Linked DNA regions of Homo sapiens: all the other regions are linked to region 2. The links are contacts of gene promoters, found by promoter capture Hi-C in human tissues and cell types (Jung and others, 2019). All regions are on one chromosome and are shown on one strand. Each heading gives the region's core, a stretch centred on a gene start or on the middle of the fragment in contact. The rest is flanking DNA. Distances are from core to core; before and after follow the strand shown. Region 1 overlaps KAT6A-AS1 (KAT6A antisense RNA 1). Region 2 holds the start of POLB (DNA polymerase beta). Region 3 has its middle 32 kb from the start of CHRNB3. Region 4 has its middle 5.6 kb from the start of THAP1.

Region 1 (5,258 bases), core at 1,814-4,313, 280 kb after region 2:
CAATAATAACTCCTCATTTTTCTTTTCCTCCAGGACCTGGCAACTACTATACAACTTTCCGTTTCTGTAAATTTGACTACTTTATGTAAGGGAAATCATACAATATTTATATTTTTGTGACTGGCCTATTTCGCTTGACACAATGTCCTCAAGTTTCATCAATGTTGTAGCGTATGTCAGAATTTCCTTCCCTTTTTAAGGCCAAATAATATTCCACTGTATGTATATACCACATTTTGTTTATCCATTCATCTGTTGATGAACATTTGAGTTGCTGCCACTTCTTGGCTACTGTGAATACTGCTACTCTGAACATGGGTATACAAACATCTCTTCAAGATTCTGTTTTCAATTTTTTTTTTTTTGAGACGGAGTCTCACTCTTTGTTGCCCAGGCTGGAGTGTAGTGGTGCAATCTCGGCTCACTGTAACCTCTGCCCTCCAGGTTCAAGAAATTCTCCTGCCTCAGGCTCCCAAGTAGCTGGCATTACAGGCTTGCGCCACCACGCCCAGCTAATTTTTGCATTTTTAGTAGAGACAGGGTTTCGCCATGTTGGCCAGGCTGGTCTCCAACTCCTGACCTCAGGTGATCCGCCCGCTTTGGCCTCCCAAAGTCTGGGATTATAGGTGTGAGCCACCGCGCCTGGCCTGTTTTCAATTCTTTTGTATATATATCCAGAAGTGAGATTGCTAGATCTTATGGTAATTCTATTTTTCACTTTTGAGGAAGCTTTATACTGTTTTCCACAGTGGCTGCACCATTTTATATTCTTAACAACACTACACAAGGACTCCAATTTTTCCACATGCTTACCAACACTTCTTGTTTTTTTTTTTTTTGAGACAGAGTCTTGCTCTGTCACCCAAGCTGGAGTGCAGTGGCATGATCTCGGCTCACTACAAGCTCCGCTGCCCGGGTTCATGCCATTCTCCTGCCTCAGCCTCCCGAGCAGCTGGGACCACAGGCGCCCACCACCACTCCTGGCTAATTTTTTTGTATCTTTAGTAGAGATGGGGTTTCACCGTGTTAGCCAGGATGGTCTCGATCTCCTGACCTCATGATCCACCCGCCTCGGCCTCCCAAAGTGCTGGGATTACAGGCGTGAGCCACCGCGTCCAGCCCACTTCTTGTTTTTTGTTTGTTTGTTTGTTTGTTTTGAGACGGAGTCTCACTCTGTTGCCAGGCTGGAGGCTGGAGTGCAGTGGTGTGACCTCGGCACACTGCAATCTCCACCTCCTGGGTTCAAGCGATTCCCCAGCCTCAGACTCCCAAGTAGCTGGGACTACAGGTGTGCACCACCACGCCCAACTAGTTTTTTCTCTTAGTAGAGACGGGGTTTCATCATGTTGGCCAGGATGGTCTCGATCTCCTGACCTCGTGATCCGCCCGCCTCCGGCTCCCAAAGTGCTGGGATTACAGGCATGAGCCACGATGCCTGGCCGTATATTGATCTTATATCCTGCAACCTTGATAAACCTATTAATTCTAGCAGTTGTTTGTAGGATATTTTAGATATTCGATCATGTCATCTGTGAACAAAGATAGCTTTCTTTCTTTCCAATTTGGATGCCTTTTTATTTTCTTTCCTTACTGTTCTGCCTAGAAACTATAGTACCATGTTGACTAGAGAAGTGGTGACAACAGATATCTTTGCTATGATCATGTCTTAGAGGGAAAGTATTTGTCTTTCATCATTAAGTACCATGTTAATTGCAGGTTTTTTGAGATTTCTTTTATCATTTTGAGGAAGTTCCTTCCTATTTCTAATTTGCTCATATTTTTATCAGGAATAGATGGATTTTGTCAAATGCTTCTCTCTTCATCGAGATAATCATATGAGTTTCCCTTTTTAGTTTGTCAATGTGATGAATTACATTGATTGATTTTCAAATGTTAAAGCAGCCTTGCATTCCTAGGACAAAGCCAGCTGGTCATGTTCATGAAGGACATCCGTTTTCTTGGAATGCCTTTGTCTGCTTTTGGAATGAGAGTAATGCTAACTTCATAAAGTGAATTGGGGAATATTCCCTTCTCTTCAAATTTCTAGAAGAATTTGTGTAAAATTCGTTTTATTTATTTACTGTTTGGTAGAATTTGTCAGTGAAATAATCTGTGCCTGACTTTTAACTATAAATTTTGTCATTCTTATAGATACAGGATTATTCAAATCGTCTACTTATTCTTATGTGACTTTTAGTACATTGTCTTCCAAGGAATTTTTTTCATTCAATCTAAGTTCTTAAACATATTGCCATAAAGTTGTTCACAATATTCCTTGTTTTTTTAATGCACTTAGAGTCTATAGTTATGTTTTTTCATTCCTCATATTGTTAATTTATATTTTCTGTTTTCCTAGTCAATCTTCTTAGAACTTTATCAATTTTATTAAGCTTTTCAAAGAAGTCTTTTGGTTTCATTGATTTTCTCTATTGCTTTTCTGCTTTCCATTTCATTGATTGGTGCTCTTCATTATTTCCTCCTTTCTACTTATTATGTGGCTTGTTCTTTTTTTCTCCAGTTTTTTTGAGTAGATGCTTAGTTAATGGATTTGAGACATCTCTTCTAATATGACCATTTAAATTTCTCTCTAGGTATAGATTTAGCTGTATTCCATAGTTTTGATATGTTTCTTTTTATGTGCATTCAATGAAACATCTGTTCAAATTTCTTGAACATCTGTTTTAGAAGTTTTCTAACTTCTCTTGTCATTTTCTGTTTGACTCATGTTGTTTGATTTGCAAATATTTGGTTTTCCAGACTAATTTCATTTTGATCAGCAATCACACTTAATATAATTCTAATCTCTTAAATTTATCAAAATTTATTTTACAACACAGAACATAGTCTATCTTGGTGAATATTTTCTGCACACTGGCAGAGTACATGGATTCTTTTGCTGTTGGGTACAATGTCCTATAAACAAGTAGCTCAAGTTAATCGACAATATTGCTCAAGCATTACTCCTTTTCTTTCTACTTAAAAACCTCAATTATTAGCATAGTGTTGAAATCTTAAACTTTAATTGTGGATTTCTCTATTTTTCCTTTAGGCGCTCAGTATTTTTATTATTTATTTATTTATTTATTTATTTATTTATTTATTGAGACAGAGTCTCCCTCTGTCACCCAGGCTTGAGTGCAGTAGTGCAATCTCGGCTTACTGCAACCTCTGCCTCCTGGGTTCAAGCGATTCTCCTGCCTCAGCCTCCTGAGTAGCTGGGATTATAGGCATGCACCACCACGCCTGGCTAATTTTTGTATTTTTAGTAGAGATGGGGTTTCACCATGTTGGTCAGGTTGGTCTCAAACACCTGACCTCGTGATCAGCCCACCTTGGCCTCCCAAAGTGCTGGGATTACAGGCGTGAGCCACCGTGCCCTGGTGGCTCTCAGTTTTTGATTCAGCATTTTGTAGGCCTGTTATTTGTTCCATAAGCATTTTGGATTATTGTGTCTATTTGATAAATTGACTCTCTTATCATTCTGAAATATTAATCTTTATTCCTGGTAATATTCCCTGTTCTGAAATCTGTCTGTTTGATAGTAATACTGTCACTCCATCATTCTTTTGGTTCGTGTTTGCCTGGCATGTATTTTTCATTCTTTTGCATTTAACATATTTGTGTTTATCTAAAATGTGTTCCTACAAACAGCACATATTTTGCTCTTGCTTTTATATACAATCTGATAATCTCTGCCTCTTAGTTTGATGTTTAGACCACTTATATTTAATACAATTATCAATATAGTTGAGTTTAAGTGTATCATCTTGCTATAGTTTTCTATTTGTCTAATCTGGTTTTTACTCCTTTTTTTTCTTCTTTTCCTGTTTTCTTCTAAATTGAGTATTTTTGTGACTCTTTTATTTCCACGATTGGCCTAGTAGCTCTACTTTAGTTTTATTATTACTTTTAGTGGTTGTTGCAAGGTTTACAATATGCATCTTTAGCTTACTACAGTCTACCTTCAAATGATAATTTGCCACTATACATACAGTGTAAAACTTTGTAACCACTATTCCCATTTCTCCATATTCTCCCTATTATCCATTTTACTATTACATAAGTTTTAAACCCCATAATACATTGTTATTAATTTGCCTTACACAATAATCTTATAAATAAAAAAATTGTACTTATCCACACATTTCACAATTACAGAGTTCTTAACATTTATCTACAAATCAAAATTTCAGTCTAGTATCCTTTCCCATTATTTTTGAAGAAGTATCTTCAATATTTCTGGAAGTTCATGTTTGCTAGTGATAAACTATCTTAGCTCTTTCTTTCTTTTCTTTCTTTCTTTCTCTCTCTCTTTCTCTCTCTTCTCTTTCTTTCTGACAAGGTCTTGCTCTGGAAGTTCATGTTTTCTCATGATAAACTATCTTAGCTTTATTCTTTCCTGCTCTCCCCTCTCCCCCTCCCTCCCTCCCTCCCTTCCTTTCTTTTTTCCTTTTTTTTTTTTTTTTTTTTTGAGACAAGTTCTTGCTCTGTCACTCAGGCTGGAGTGCAGTGGCACAATCATGGCTCACTGAAGCCTTGACCTAGGCTCAAGCAAACCTCCCACCTCAGCCTCTCAAGTAGCTGGAATTACAGGCATGCGCCACCACACCCAGCTATTTTTCAATTTTTTTTTTTTTGATAGAGATGGGGGTCTCACTACGTTGCCTAGGCTGGTCTTGAACTCCTGGTTCAAGCGATCCTCCTCCCTTGGGCTCTTATCGTGCTGGGATTACAGGTGTGAGCCACCGCACCCAGTTGCTTTTTTCTTTCTTTCTTTCTTTTTTTTTTTTTTGAGACAGAATCTCACACTGTTACCCAGGCTGGAATGCAACGGGGTGATCTTGGCTCACTACAACCTCTGCCTCCCAGGTTCAAGCGGTTCTCTTGCCTCAGCCTCCCAAGTAGCTAGGACTACAGGTGTGCGCCATCCTGCTCGGCTAATGTTTTCTATTTTTAGTAGAAACAGGGTTTCACCATGTTGGAGAGGCTGGTCTTGAACCCCTGACTTCAGGCGATCCGCCTGCCTCAGCCTCCCAAAGTGTTGGGATTACAGGTGTGAGCCACTGCGCCCAGCCGCTTTTTTTTTTTTTTGTCTGAAACATTTTTCTCTTCCATTTCTGAAAGACATTTTTGCTGAGTAAAGAACTCTAGGTTGATTTTTAAAAATCTTTCAGCAATCTGAAGACTTTTTTTCTTGGTTGAATAGTTTCTAATAACAAGTCTAATGTAATTCCTATCTTTGTTCTTTCCTGTGTATT
Region 2 (5,239 bases), core at 1,397-3,896:
AATGTCTACTGGGGTAGGGAGGAGCATGCAGGAGTGGTAGGGAATCACCTGCTTTTCCAGACTTATTTCCCACTCATACCATACCCGTTAAGCAAACTGAACATCTGACTTCCAGAAAACGTTATACCCTTCATGTCTCAATGCTTTGGCACATTTTATTTGTCTAGACTGCTGGCCCTCTCACTTATCCCGATGAGCTTCTTCAAACTAAACACCTCCTTTCTGAGACCTGCTGTGATCCAAATAGAATACAAAGTTGAATATCTCTGTAATTTTGAATCATCAAATGTATGGATGATAATACAATTATTTTACTTTACAGAGGAAGTCACAGAAGTAAGGAAAGGAGGGAGCACAATCAGCTCTGAACTGTGTGGAGTGGGAATGGAAGAAGGGAGCTGACTTGGGATAAAGACAGTATAGGGCTAAAAATGTGGAAAAAAGTCCAGTGATACACAGATTTGGAGTCACTGACATAAGTGGCATTTCAAAGTCAAGAATGGCAAGATTGCCAGGGAAACTACAGAAGTAAGAAAAGAGGGCTAAGGGCAGGCAGACTCCCCGGAACCACAGGTTAACTATCCCTTATCTGAAATGCCTGGGACCAGCATTGTTTCAGATTTTGAATTTTTTTCAGGGTTTGGAATATTTGCGTATACATAATAAGATATCTTAGGGATATGGGAGATACAAGTCTAAATACAAAATTCAGTCATATTTCTCACACACCTTACGCACATACCCTGAAGGTAATCTTATATAGTCGTTTTAATAATTTTGTGCATGAAACAAAGTTTTGACCATTTTGACTGCCACCTACTACATGAGATCGGATGTGGAATTTTCCACTTGTGTCATCATGTCGGCAATCATCCAGATTTTAGAGCATTTCAAATTTTCAGATTAGGGATGCTCAACCTATACCAACATTAAAAGGTAAGACAGAAGAAGAGATGAAAGACCAGAAAGAGTGCCATTACAGAAGTCAAGAGATATTCACAGCATGAGCCAGGGGTGAATGCCACAGAGAGTCCAATAAGATGAGACGTAGGTGAGCGGATTTTCAGAGCACTGGTAGGTCCAGGCAAGGACTGGGACTTCTTGAGTAAATGATTAGGTATTAAGAAGTCCAGGCAAGGAATGAAGATTTTTCAAGAAGATTCACCATAAAGTGAGAAAAGAGGGAAGGTGCTAGCTAGAGGGAAGTTAAGATTGTTTTGGTTTTGCTTTTAAGAGCTGAGGGACTTGCACATATTTATAGGCTAAGGAGAGCTGACACCGAGGCTGATGCCTGGAATCCCAGCACTCTGGGAGACCAAGGTGTGTGGACCATTTGAGTTTAGGAGTTGGAGATCAGCCTGGGCAACATAGCAAAACCCGGTCTCTACAAAAAAAAAAAGAAAAAAAAAGAAAGAAAAAAAAATTAGCTGGGTGTGGTGGCGTGCGCCTGTAGTAGTCCCAGCCACTCAGGAGGCTGAGATGGGAAGATCACTTGAGGCTGGAAGGTTGAAGCTGCAATGAGCCATGATCATACCACAGCGAGACCCCGTCTCAAATAAAAATAAATAAATAAATAAATATAGGCTAAGGAGTAGAAGCAGGTGGATGTGGAAAGAATGAATAGGATAAGGCCCCTGGTGAGATGAACAAGGACAGGATCCCATGAACAAGGAACAAGGATCAGGATCAGGATCCCACAGGATCAACTTTAGACCAACCAAAAGAAAAAATGTGATTCCTTGAACCACATATATTTCACAGTATGGACTTCATCCGCTGTCTTTCATTACGGTTAAAATTACACCGCATTTCTAGTAATTCATGTTTGATGATGACAAAATACGTATCAGGCTACAGCTATCTGCAATCAGAATTGGGAACTTATCTGAACTGATCCTATAACGCACTGCCCACATTCTTCAAGAAATAGTAAGGTACCAGCCTCGATTCTTGCTTTTTCCCGCTCTTGCAGATGGACCAAATATCCACTGGGCCCTCAGTCCTGTTAATTGCCACACTAAACAGGGTATCCCAGAACGTATGCTACCCGAGAATGCTGCACTGTCCCACCTGTAAGCATTGTACTTGTGGATAGCTTGGCTCACGTTCTTCTCAAAGTTTGCGAGTTCTGAAAGGCAACAGAAGGCTCGGGTGAACAAGAACCACGAGTAAACAAACGAGAACTGTTTTCTGGAAGGGGATATGGCAGCCTCTAAGAGACAGTGACCACCCGTTTCCTCCAAGGGCCAGACCAAAAGCAGCCCAAGCGATGGCCCAGGTGTAGCCGGCAGGACTGACAACCAGCCAGGGGCGCCGGAGGGAGATCCCCACGGAAGACGACCCGCTGCAAGGAACCTACCCTACCCACTGGACTGTCGGTGTGGGAGAGAAGGAAGGCAGGGGAAGAGGCTGGAAGGAAAGAAGAAAGCCAGCGGGGCCCGGCCCGGTGCTAACCTGTGAGCATGTCGGTGATTCCCCCGTTGAGAGTCTCCTGCGGCGCCTTCCGTTTGCTCATGGCGGCCTGCACCCGAGAACCCCAGAGTGTTCAGAACCAGGGACTAGAGCCCTCTCCCAGCTTGAAGGAGGTACCAGGACTTGGAGACGGGAGCAGGAGCAACCCAGCTCCGGCGCGACCGGCGGAACAATGGTTGCCCCCGATGGGGGGCGGGGCGCACGGCGCTTGTTGTGACGTCACGCGTCCTGGGCGGGGCGGGGCGGGGCTAGAGGGGCGAGCCCTCGGCAGGTGAGGAGAGAGAACTCGGAGGGTTCGTGGACTCGTGGACGTGGACACGGCGCGGGGGAAATAGGCACCTCAGAATGACAGCCCAGGGGCCTTCCTATGGGAAGACCTGGAGTTTTGACCTAAGATATTAAATCTGTTTTCTCAGTGTTTATCTGGAATCCTTTCCCTAGAAGGGGAAACGGGAGTGCGATCTTGATTCTGAAATACTTGCGCTGGTGGGGTAGCTTCCTGCACAAAAATGTGCACTGTAATAGCTACCCAATGCATGGCGCGTTTTGTACGTGGTTAGAGGCGACACTGGCGTCACACTGTCAAAACTTTCTCTAAGGATACCGGGCAGTCCACACTCCAGTGCAGCCCCTTACGTACTAGGGCGCTGCCGGAGCCCGGCGTGAACCATGCCGAGAACAGGAATCCTCCCGCACACGTGTTAGTACACCTGCCAACCAGTGTCAAAAGATATTTTATTTTTAATCCCCCTGCCTTTGCGGTAGGGACCAAATTAATGAAGAGACCACAAGAAAGGGAGAAGTGTTTCATCTAGATCATGAGCAATGGAACCCTAATTATAACATGATGACCTACATCTGAGAAATTTACAGTCTGCTTGAGAAATGGAAATGTCACATCAGCAATAGTTTATTTTACAAGCGTAACTCCTGGGTTCATATCGAACTGCAATTCCAGGCAATTGCTTTGTGCATCGAAAAATTAAAATTTATTACAAAATGATACGTAGTTGCTGTAGAGAAATCTGGAAAAATGTATAAAAGGAGAAAATTAAAATCAGTGATCTCACCCTACAGCTGAACTATTAATATTTTGGGACGTACACTTCTAGTCTTCTAACCCAGTCTATTAAAAATTCCCATTATTTTCCAATAAATATCATTAGTTTCTTTGATTAGCAAGGTTGTGGTGATTGTGTTTCCTTACAATATCAGTGTATATCTTAAGTTATGCTTATTGGAAATCTGTAATTCTTCTTTTTTTGAATTTCCTATTCATATCATTTACCATTTTCCTAATGGGGGTAGTTTGTTACTAATCTGGTAGATCTTTTCTATATATTACTACTTGCCCTTTTATGGATAGCTTTTGTAAAAATTTTGTACATATTTGTATTTTCCTCAATTTATTACTTGAGGAATAAAAGTTAAAAAAACTTTATGCCTGCAACTTAACTATCTGATTAGTTAAGCTGCAGTGAGCAGTGACCACTCTCATTTACTCTTTATACTCTCATTTACATATATGACTTGTCCTAGTTTTCCCTGTTCACACTTTTTTCTGTCCAATCTCTATTCCAGGTGATATTCAGATTATTTTGCTCTGAAGAATTATTCCTCCTTAAATAAAAATGTATTTACCTCTGAATTTTAAAAGTTACAAATGTAGGGAATTGTGGGATCAGTTTTACAAATTTTTTTGTTTTGAGACAGAGTTTCACTCTTGTCCCGCAGGCCAGAGTGCAATGGCACGATCTCGGCTCACTGCAACCTCTGCCTCCCGGGTTCAAGTGATTCTCCTGCCTCAGCCTCCCGAGTAGCTGGGATTACAGGATCCTGCCACCATGCCCAGCTAATTTTTGTATTTTTAGTAGAGATGGGGTTTCACCATGTTGGCCAGGCTGGTCTCAAACCCCTGACCTCAAGTGATCCACCCGCCTTGGCCTATTAAAGTGCTAGATTACAGGCGTGAGCCACTGCACCTAGCCCATTTTTACAAATACTATATTTTTAAAATTAGTGCCAGAGAAACCAAGGAAAATAATCCATTATCTGTCCTTATCGTCTTAGAACAACCGACATTTGATCTGCTTCACAAAGTTCTTCTTGAAATAACTTGCTTCAATTGGCTTCTAAGATTCCACATGCTCTGGGCTTCCTTTTTCCTCACTGGCCAGTCCTCAGCAGGGTGTGTGTGTGCGCACATGTGCGCCTGAGCACTGGTTCCCAGCTCCTCCTCCACTCTCCAGCCTTTATGGGAAATGGCTTCACACTTCAGTCTTCTAACCAGCTTTTCCAACTTGTCCAGTTTTACCTGTTTAAATGGCATGTCTAGCTTGAAAGTCTCCTAAACTCATAGTTCAAGTCTTGACCTCTCCCTTGAGTTCCAGTCTCATACATCAGGCTGTCTACTGGATAGCTCTAGTCCATAATAGGCATCTCAAAGATAAAATGTCCTAAAGAACTCCTGACTCTTGCCCCACCAGCTTCTCCTTAACTTTCCCCCATCTCAGTTAATAGCATTTTAATCCACCCTGCTATCAGGCCAAACCCATAAGAGTCATTTTTAATTGCTCTTTTCACACCCCACATCCCGTCTGCCAGCAGACCTTGTCTGTTCTGTCTCAGGAATATGTGCTGAACTGGATGACCTCTCATCCCGAGCTGCCACTGCCCTAGATCAAACTCCCATGACCTCCTGAACTGTTACCAAAGCCTCCTCAGTGGGCTTCCTGCTTCTGCTCTTGTCCTCTTATAGAATATTCCC
Region 3 (5,513 bases), core at 810-3,309, 330 kb before region 2:
GAAAATACAGTGGACAGAGTGATACGTAAACCACCCCTTAGGGGCGTGATCTGCAAAAACCAGCCTGTGAGAAACTCCAGGTTTCTTCAACAATCAATTGCAAGGAAAAAGAGTAATAAAAGGGAACCAATAGTTTTTTGAAAAACAGGAAACATATCAACAAATTTCAACGTATAGCTCTTAATCAGATTAGCCAAGCTCAGTGGCTCTTGCCTGTAATCCCAGCATTTTGGGAGGCCGAGGTGGGGGAATCACCTGAGGTCAGGAGTTCAAGACCAGCCTGACCAACATGGTGAAACCCCATCTCAACTAAAAATACAAAAATTAGCCAGGCCTGGTGGTGCATACCTGTAATCCCAGCTACTTCAGAGGCTGAGGCAGGAGAATTGCTTGAACCCGGGAGGTGGATGTTGCAGTGAGCTGAGATTGCACCACTGCACTCCAGCCTGGGTAACAGAGGGAGACTCCATTAAAAAAAAAAAATTAAAAAAAATCTTAATTGGATCACGATTCAAACAAATTGTAAAACAATAAGGAAATAAGGAAAATTTGAACACAGGTTGGATATTAAATGATTTCTTTATAGTAGTAGTAGGTGAGTTATATGGATGAATTCATCATGGCTTGATAACTAGTGAAGCTGGGTGGTGAGTACATGAGAAATCATTGTACCCTTCTGTCTATTTTTGGATATATTTGGAATTTTCCATGATAAGCGATTGTTATTGAAAACCTACTCTGCGTATCCAAAGCTGAACATTCTCCTCCTCCTCCTTGCATTCCTTCTGCAACAATCCTAACCCTCCCAGAGGCAGAGGAACGGCCAGAAATCAAACACGGGACTGCAATAGAGAAAAGCAACTGACATATTTCCAAAAATATTATTTCCATTTCAGAAGCTTTATTTTTGATGGAAGATGATAAGTTCCATTTTACATGTGTTGAATTTGAGCTTCCCAACTCCAGCAGGAGTCAAAAACGCAAGACTTCAGACTGGAAGGCATGTCAGGGCTGAAGCTGTGAAAACAGATAATGTCCCCGGCAGAACAGAAACAGAAGAAAAAGAAAAAGAGGAGCACTTGGGATAGAGTCTTTCCCCTCCTCCCTTCCTTTCTTACTCATTCATTCAGAAATGCATGTGTAAGTGCCTATAAGCTACAAGAACCAGGGAGATAAAAAGATGAAAAGGTGGCATTTATTGAGGAAGAAAGGCATTAGGTGTGCCAGGCGTGGTGGCTCAAGCCTGTAATCCCAGCATTTTGGGAGGCTGAGGCGGGCGGATCATGAGGTCAGGAAATCGAGACCATCCTGGCTAACATGGTGAAACCCCATCTCTACTAAAAATACAAAACATTAGCTGGGCGTGCCTGTAGTCCCAGATACTCGGGAGGCTGATGCAGAAGAATCGCTTGAACCTGGGAAGCAGAGGTTTCAGTGAGCCGAGATCGTGCCACTGCACTCCAGCCTGGGCGACAGAGCGAGACTCCTTCTACAAAAAAAAAGAATAAATGGAAGGCATCTGGTGCTATGAAAAGCATTAGGTTTTGTGATGGGGGTAGACATGAGGCGGAGAGGACACACAGAAGACCTCTTAAGTTTGACTGAAGAATTCAGAGAAATGCTCTTGTTTGGGAGGCCAGAGAAAAAAGTGAAACTGAGACTCAGGGCCATGTCTGAGTTCTGGCCAATGAAACTATGGGGGACCTTCTGCGAAGATGTTTTTCCTGTCTGCTAAAAAGAAAGCCCTTTTCTGCCCACATCCTTCCTTGCTGCTTCCTGCTGTGGGTGCAGTGTGAGGCTGTGGTGCTTGGAACAGCTGCAGCCACTCTGTGACCAGGAGTCAGCAAGCATGAGGACGAGATGTCAACACACTCAGGGTGTTTGAAGTCACCTGATCCTTGATGCCATTGCTGAGCTACTAAACAAGCTCTAAGCAGCCTAGACTCATTGTTAAGTAAACAATAAATCCTTTTATATTTTTTAAAAATTATTTCAACTTTTATTTTAGATTCAGGCGTTTCTTACATGGGTATACTGTGTGACATTGAGGTTTGGGGGTATGAGTGATCCCACCACCCAGATAGTGAGCATAGTACCCAATAGTTATTTTTTCAGCCCTTGTCCCCTCCTTCTTCCTGCTCCAGGTGACCCCAGTGTCTATCGTTCATATCTTTATGTCCATGAGTACCCAATGCTTACCTCCCACTTAGGAGTGAGAACATGCAGTATTTGGTTTTTCTGTTCCTGAGTTAATTTGCTTAGGATAGTGGCCTCTAGCTGCATCCATGTTGCTGCAAAGGATATGATTTTACTCTTTTAAAAGGCTGTGTAGTATTCCATGGTGTATAGGTACTACATTTCCTTTGTCCAATCCACCACTGATGGGCACCTGGGTTGATTCCATGTTTTGGCTATTGTGAACAATGCTGCGATGATAAATGTTCTTATATTGAAAACATTATTAATTTGAATACTCTATTACTTGGAATAAAGTGAACTCTCTGGTGTGGTGTTTCTTCTCTACCAAACTATGAATTGCTTGGAGAAGCAACACAGCAAAATGCTCCCAACAGACCTTGTTGATGTATATGATACCAGTCTTGAAAGCAGCAAAAACTGGAGTGGGCAGAATCCAGACTGATGGAGTGAATGTGTGGTCAATGTCAGCTTCTGGGATTCCTCCCACCCACCAATGAAGACTATAAAGATGAGTCAGGGTCAAAGCCATGTATGGATTGAGCCAGAAGGTAGCGGGTAAATGAATGCTCTTGACCATAGGTATTCCCTCTTGGGCTCCATCTTCCCAACCGCTTTTTCCTCAATACGGAGGGTGCCTCCCAGCAGAGCGGGGCCACCTCTGCTTACATCAGCAAAAGGTGATCTTGCCAGGAAAAGGAGGTAGGAGCAGCATCTGAGAAAGTAGCAGGATTAAGGAAAGAATTTCTTTTAGAGTGGGAAGACTTGAGCATGTCTGTGGATTGAAGAAAACAAGAAACCAAAAATGGAAGCAAAGCAGGTGATTGATGGAGCAAGGTGGAGGAGGTGGAAAGATCCAGAGATGGGGGGATGAAGAGAGGCTGGTTCATGGGTATAAAAACACAGTTAGAAGGAATGAGTTCTAGTATTCAATGGTGCAGTAGGGAAATTATAGCTAACAATAATTTATTATATATTTTGAAATAGTTAGATTTGTAATGTTTCCAAAACAAAGAAAAAGATAAACGCTTGAGGTGATGGCTATCCCAATTATGCAGATTCCATCATTACCCATTGTATGCAGGGATCAAAACATCACACATACCCCATAAATATGTACAACTATGATATATCAACTTAAAAACACAAAAAAGGAGAGATGCAGAGGAAAGGTATTTTTTCTCGTGAAGATAGGCAAAGAGAAGAGAATATATGAGATACGCTAAGGGGAAGGATATACAAAGAATTTTCCTGGCTGACTCTGATGCCAGACAGGCAAGCTGCAAAACTGGGGCTTAGCCTGGGAGGGTTCTTGGCTTCACCCCAGAAGGAATTCAAGGGTAAGCTGGTGGTGTTAGACGCAGCTTTTATTGGAGTGACAGTGTACGGTGGCAGCAGAGGGACTGCTCCTTGCAAGGCAGGGCTACCCTTGAGGCAGGGAACCTGGAGGAGCAGTTCAGAGGCAGCTCTGCCATCACGTTTATACCCACTTTTAATGACATCCAAATTAAGGGGATGATTATCCAGAAACTTCCAGAAAAAGAGTGGTAACTTCCAGGTCATCAGGTTGTTACCATGGAAAGGGACGATAGCTTCCGGTGTTGCCATGGCAATGGCAGTTGATATGGCATGGATAGGCATTTCTTATGGGGAGGTGCCCTCGTCTCTTCCCTGTCTCAGCCAGTTCTCTATCTGGTCTGGAGTCCCAGCCCTGCCCCCAGAGCCAAGTCCCTCCTTCTACCTCAACCCAACTGCAGAAGGCAGAGTTGTTGTTTCAGGGAGATGAAATAGAGCCTGGTCTCCAGTGGCCTCACAGGTAGCATCTCCCTGAGGCATCCCCAAGGTCAAGGGGTCAGAGTTCAGCCTTCTGTTTCAGAAATCAACTGTGTGAGCAGAATTGAGTAGACTGAAAGCGATTGTCTTATATTCACCTAAGCAGTCACTCCTGGGCTTCAGACTGAGCACTGTTTCCAGAGTGTGGTAAGCCATTCTACCTTTCTGAGCCTTAGTTTCCCTATTTTCAAAATGATATGAAAAGTAGTAGTTTTCTGAAGGGGCTGCTGTTATAATCCAACCTGATCATTCGTGTAATCTATGAAGCACAGTGCTCAATAAACTATTACATTGGGAGGCCAAGGTGGGCAGATAGATCACTTGAGGTCAAGAGTTCAAGACCAGTCTGGCCAATATAGTGAAACCTGTCTCTACTAAAAATACAAAAATTAGCCACGCTTGGTGGCAGGTTCCTGTAATCCAAGCTACTCAGGAGGCTGAGGCACAAGAATCTCTTGAACCCGGGAGGTGGAGACTGCAGTGGGCCAAGATGGCACCACTGCACTCCAGCCTGGGTGATAAAGTGAGATTCAGTCTCAATAAATAAATAAATATTACAATTTTTTTTTCAACAAAATTATTGAACACCTACTTTATACCAGGCACTGTGCTCTGTGTGAGGACATACATAGGTAAATAAAATTAGCAGTGTATACCTGTCTTCATGAAGCTGTCATTAATGCTGCCAAGGGAATAATAAACGCAATGGGTTCCCATCTGAGAAACTCCAGAAAAAACCTGTTCTAGGCAGGCATGACTGTGGAGGTTTAGTAAATGCACACCAATTGTATAAAGTCAGAATGAGACTTTAAGTTTGTGTCAAGACACATAACTTGATAGGGGTCAGATCAATGCAGTCAGCTCTACAAAACACTATGGGAACGTTGCTCAGTGAATGTGGAATCAGGGTGTAGTGGGTTCAATAATTTCCCCCGTTATGGTTTGACATGGTTTTTTAGGCCCCACCAAATCTCATGTTGAAATCTGATCCCCAGTGTTGGAGGGGGCCTTGTGGGAGGTGTGTTGGTCTTGGGGGCTTGGTGCCATTCTCGTGGGAGTTAAGTTCTCACTCTTAGTTCTAGCAAGAACTGGTTATTGAAAAGAGCCCGGCCCCTCCCTCCCCTTTTTCCATATGGTCAGCACATGCCAGCGCCCCTTCCTCTTCAGCCGTAAGTAGAAGCGGCCTGAGGCCTCACCAGACGAAGATGCTGGCACCATGCCTCCTGTGAAGCCCACAGAATCATGAACCAAACAAGCCTCTTTCCTTTATAAATTTTCAGCCTCAGATATTCCTTTATAGCAATGCAAGATGAAAAACCTCCCAAATTCATATCTACCCAGAGCCTCAAAATGTGACCTTATTTGAAACAGGGTATTTGCAGATATAACTAAACATTAAGATGAGGTCCTATTGGATTAGAGTGAGTCCTAAATCCAATCTTTGTGTTCTTATAAGAAGAGGGAAGATCACGCAAAGACACAAG
Region 4 (5,310 bases), core at 81-2,580, 510 kb before region 2:
GTGTTAATATCTGAATCCTTCTCTTGTTCTTTCTTTTTCTTTCTTTTTTTTTTTTTTTTGAGACGGAGTCTCACTCTGTCACCCAGGCTGGAGTGCAATGGCACAATCTCGGCTCACTGCAACCTCCGCTTCCTGGGCTCAAGCGATTCTCCTGCCTCAGTCTCCCGAGTAGCTGGGACTACAGATGCCCACCACCACACCCAACTAATTTTTCTATTTTTAGTAGAGACAGGGTTTCTACTAAACCCTGGCCAGGCTGGTCTGGAACTCCTGATCTCAGGTAATCCGCCAGTCCCGGCCTCCCAAATTGCTGAGATTACAGGTGTGAGCCACTGCACCCAGCCTCCTCTCTTACTCTTATAACCATCTATCAACAAGCCCTGGCATTTCTACCATTGACATGTCGAATCCTATCACTCTATACCCTCTGCCACCACCGCAGTCCAAGGAGAGTTCTGTGTGTCCAGGAGCCCAATGGGGGCTGTGGTGGTAGAGCCCAGGGAGCTGGAAGGAGGGCATGAAGTGAGGTTGAAGAAGCAGGAAGGCTGTTGATTTGGATTTACGTGCAGTGGGAAGACATGATCTAACAAACATTTTTAAAAGGTCATTCTGACTACCGTGTGTAGGGTTCATCAGAGAAGAGCAGCCGTGCAAGTGAGCAGACCCATCAAGAGGCTGTTGCATGCCTGGACACACAGAACTCTCCTGCCTGTACAGTCGGATGCAGGTCAGGGCCTCAGCATATACCCCATGACCGAATGCTCCCTTCAGCCTCACCACGTTTATGCTTCACGTTACTAGACTGTGTTTCCATCCTTTGGTTCTCAGGTTAAATGTTCCCTCCTCACTCAGACTACCCAAAAGTAGGCAGTGCAAAAGTAGTGCAAAAGTAGGCAGTGACCCTCCCCTCCCCTTACCCCAGGGCACTCTGAGGCATTCAGACATCTCAGCACAGCATCATCATATTGACATTTCCATTGTCTGTCTGCTTCTCACTAGAACACAAGCTCTATGAAAACAGAGACAATGTTAGTTTTGTCCACCCAGATATTCACAGATGTACCATTATGCCTGCCACCACAGTAGTGCTCAACACATTAAAGATTAATAAATAAAGCAAGGGAAAGACAGGAAAGGGCAGAAGACAAGGAAAGATCACTTCTTACTCAGTCATGGCTGCCGCCCAGGTCTAAGCCACCCTCACTTCTCACCTAAAGGATCACAGCGACCTTCCAGGCAGTCTCCCAGGCACCAAGTGCCTGGCTCCCTACATGCAACGCAGCCCGATGATCATCTCAAGTGTGACTCTGCTGGAAAGCCTGCTCTCCCTTTCCCACAGAGTAAAGGTAAAGTCCTCACGCCAGCCTGCAAGGCCCCATGTGACCTTGGTTGCTCATTTCCTCTCTAACCTCATCTCACATTTGTCCCCACAGCTCACTCTGCTCCAGCCATCCAGCCCTCCTTGCTGTCCTTTGAGCAGGCTGAAGACGCCCAGCCTCAGGAGCTCTGCCCTGGCCAGTCCCTCTGACTGCTAGGCTCCTCCGCCGGGCATCCTCACAGCCAACTCTCACCAACTCCAGATCTTCGCACAATAGCCATTTCCTCTGTTAGGCCTGTCCTGTCCACCATAAGGAAACTTGCAACTCCCTCAGCCCACAGAGCACCTCTCACCGGCTAACATACTCTGTGGTCACGTGTTTGCTATCTGCCTCCCTAATGTCTTTGAGAACATTAGCTCCCTGAGGGCAGAAATCTCCTTCACTGACATATCCCAAGCCCCCAGAACTATGCGTGCAGCATAGTCAGTAACTATTTGTTGAATCAATGAATGAGAAAACAATATCAGGGAACTCTAAGTTGAAATACACTTTCTCAGTTCACAATGTTATCCATTCTGACCTTTATCAGACACAGGCACAGAGGACCTCAGAGATATTCCCAGCAGTCTCAATATCCATGGTAATGCTAATAAACTACTATTCTGGCATTTTGGTAATGGCAGACCTCATTTTATTGTAATTTGCTTTATTGATTTTTGCAGATATTGTACTTTTTACAAATTGAATGTTTGTGGCATCGCGGCTTCGAGCAAGTCCATTGGCACCATTTTTCCAGCAGCACGTACTCAAGTCATGTCTCTGTCACATTTTGGTAATTCTCGCAATATTGCAAACTTTCTCATTATTATTATAGCTGTTATGGTGATCCGTGATCAGTGATCTTTAATGTTACTACTGATCTTTGTTTTGGAGTGCTACAAACCGCACCCACTTATGGTGAGCTTAATTGATACAAGTTGTATGTGTTCTCACTCACCACTGACTGGCCATTCCCTAGTCTCTCTCGCTCTCCTTGGGCCTCCCTATTGCCTGAGACACAACAACATTGAAATTAGGCCAATTAGTAACCATACCAATGCCCACTAAGTCCTTGCTAAGATTCTTACTTTCAATCATAAGGTAGAAATGATCAAGTGTAGTGAGGAAGGCATGTTGAAAGGCACGACAGGCTGAGAGCTAGGCCTCTTGTGCCAAACAGCCAAGTTGTGAATGTAAAGGAAAAAAAATTTTTTTTTTGAGACAGAGTCTCACTCTGTCGCCCAGGCTGGAGTGCAGTGGCGCTATCTTGGCTCACTGCAACCTCCGCCTCCCGGGTTCATGCCATTCTCCTGCCTCAGCCTCCTGAGTAGCTGGAACTACAGGTGCCCACCACCATGCCCAGCTAATTTTTTGGGTTTTTTTTTTTTTTTTTTGTATTTTTAGTAGAGATGGGGTTGCACTGTGTTAGCCAGGATGGTCTCGATCTCCTGACCTCGTGATCCGCCCACCTCAGCCTCCCAAAGTGCTGGGATTACAGGTGTGAGCAAACGTGCCTGGCATAAAGGAAAAATTCTTGAAGGAAATTAGAAGTGCTATTCCAGTGAACACACGAATAATAAAAAAGCTAAGCAGCCTTAATGCTGATATGGAGAAAGTTTAAATGGGCTGGGTGCCATGGCTCACACCTGTAATCCCAGCACTTTGGGAAGCCAAAGTGGGAGGATCACTTCAGGTCAGGAGTTCGAGACCAGCCTGGCCTACATGGTGAAACCCAGTCTCTACTAAAAATATAAAAATTAGCTGGGTGTGGTGGTGCGCGCCTATAATCCCAGCTACATGGGTGGCTGAGGCAGGAGAATCGCTTTAACCTGGGAGGTGGGGGTTGCAGTGAGCAGAGATTGCGCCACTGCACTCCAGCCTGGGCTACAGAGCGAGACTCAGTCTCAAAAGAAAAAAAGTTTAAATGGTCTTCCCTTAAACCAAATCCCCCCCAACTCTGTTCAATTTTGTGAAGGCTGAGAGAGGTGAGGAAACTGCAGAACAAAGTTGTAAGCTAGCAGAGGTCGGTTCAGGAGGTTTAAGACAAGAAGCCATCTCCATAATATAAAAGTGCAAAGTGAAGCAGCAAGTGCTGATGGAGAAGCTGCAGTGAGTTCTCCAGAAGATCCAGCTCAGATAATTAATGAAGGTGGCTACACTAACAGCAGATTTTCAATGTAGATAGAATGGCTTCTATTGGAAGAAGATGCCATCTAGGACTTTTAGTAGCCAGGAAGGAGAATTCAGTGCTTGGCTTCAAAGTGTCACAGGACTGGCTGACTCCCTTGTTAGGGGCTGATGCAACTGATGACTTTAAGTTGAAGCCAATGCTCACTTACCATTTCAAAAATCCTATTGGTCTTAAGAACAATGGTAAATCTACTCTGCCTGTGCTCAATAAATGGAATAATAAAGCCTGGATGACAGCACATCTGTTTACAGCATGGTTCACTTAATATTTTAAGTCCATTGTTACACCTACTGCTCAGAAAAAAAAATTCCTTTCAAAATAATACTGCTCATTGACAATGCACCTGGTCACCCAAGAGCTCTAATGGAGATGTACAAGGAGATGAATGTTGTTTTCATGCCTGTAACACAACATCCATTCTGCAGCCCCATAAATCAAGGAGTATTTTGACTTCCAAGTTTTATTACCTATGAAATAAATTTTGTAAGCCTATAGCTGCCATAGATAGTGACTCCTCTGATGGATCTGGGCAAAGTCAGTAGAAAACCTTCTGGAAAGGATTCATCATTCTAGATGCCCTGAAGAACATCAATAATTCATGGGAGGAAAAATATCAACATTAACAGGAGTTTGGCAGAAATTGACTCCAGCCCTCATGAATGGCTTTGAGTTGTTCAAGACTTTGGTGGAAGAAGTCACTGCAAGTGTGATAGAAACAACAAGAGAACTAGAATTAAAAGTGGATCCTGAAGATGTGACTGAGTTGCTGCAATTTCATGATAAAACTTGAACAGATGAGGAGTTGCTTCTTATAGATGAGCAAATAAAGTAGTTTATGAAGATGGAATCTACTTCTGGCAAAGATGCTGTGAACATTGTTGAAATGACAACAACGGATTTAGAATATTTTGAATATTAAATAAACCTAGTTGATAAAGCAGTGGCAGGGTTTGAGAGGATTAACTCCAATTCTTAAAGAAGTTCTACTGTGACCAAAATGCTATTAAACAGCATTACTTGCTACAGAGAAATATTTAATGAAAGGAAGAGTCAATCGATGCAGCAAACTTCATTGTTGTCTCATTTTAAGAACTTGCCACAGCCACCTCAACCTTCAGCAACCATGATCAGTCAGCAGCCATCAACATCAAGGCAAGACTCTCCATCAACAAAAAGATCACCATTTGCTGAAGGCTCAGGTGATCATTAGCTTTTTTTTTTAGCAATACATATCTGTGTGTGTATGTGTATGTGTATAAAATTTAGAGATGGGATCTCACTGTCATGATCATAGCTCACACTCCAGCAGCCTCAGACTCCTGGACTCAAGGGATCCTCCTTGCCTCAGCCTCCCAAGTAGCTGGAACTACAGGCATGCACCACCATACCTGACCAATTAAAAACAACTTTTTAGAAACAGGGTCTCACTCTGCTGTCCAGGCTGCCTTGAGTCCCTGCCTCAGCCTCCTGAGCCCTGACACCCAGCTCATGGTAACTGTTGGTTTGCTTGTTTGAGACAGGGTCTCATTCTGTTTGCTCAGGCTGGAGTACAAAGGCATGACCACAGCTCACTGCAGCCTCAACCTTCTGGGTTCAAGGAATCCTCTCAACTCAGCCTCCCAAGTATCTGGGACTACAGGTGTGTGCCAACATGCCTGGCTAATTTTTGTATTTTTTTTGTAGAGACAGGGTCTCACTATGTTGCCCAGGCTGGCCTTGAACACCTGGGCTCATGTGATCCACCCGCCTCAGCCTCCCAAA

The links. Contacts are between HindIII fragments. The study calls those that stand out against the background at their distance.
Region 1: a contact is called between a fragment that was not itself captured here and the fragment with the promoter of POLB in region 2, in 1 of the 25 tissues and cell types used here (IMR-90 fibroblasts).
Region 3: a contact is called between a fragment that was not itself captured here and the fragment with the promoter of POLB in region 2, in 2 of the 25 tissues and cell types used here (hippocampus and neural progenitor cells).
Region 4: a contact is called between a fragment that was not itself captured here and the fragment with the promoter of POLB in region 2, in 1 of the 25 tissues and cell types used here (adrenal gland).

Annotation. Positions count from the first base shown.
Region 1 is chr8:42,058,085-42,063,342 of GRCh38, reverse strand. The region is part of intron 1 of KAT6A-AS1 (KAT6A antisense RNA 1); the gene reads right to left. Among named protein-coding and RNA genes, the nearest start is that of KAT6A, 8.7 kb to the right of the region's middle. The HindIII fragment of the contact is 3,005 bases long and covers 1,561-4,565 here.
Region 2 is chr8:42,335,901-42,341,139 of GRCh38, reverse strand. POLB (DNA polymerase beta) reads right to left here and starts at 2,646. Exons shown (of 14, transcript NM_002690.3): 1 at 2,455-2,646; 2 at 2,071-2,128. The coding sequence starts at 2,515. The HindIII fragment of the contact is 25,945 bases long and covers 1-5,239 here.
Region 3 is chr8:42,662,290-42,667,802 of GRCh38, reverse strand. No RefSeq gene overlaps it. Among named protein-coding and RNA genes, the nearest start is that of CHRNB3, 32 kb to the left of the region's middle. The HindIII fragment of the contact is 8,240 bases long and covers 1-5,513 here.
Region 4 is chr8:42,846,314-42,851,623 of GRCh38, reverse strand. It overlaps a transcript of RNF170 not described here. Among named protein-coding and RNA genes, the nearest start is that of THAP1, 5.6 kb to the right of the region's middle. The HindIII fragment of the contact is 4,868 bases long and covers 1-3,764 here.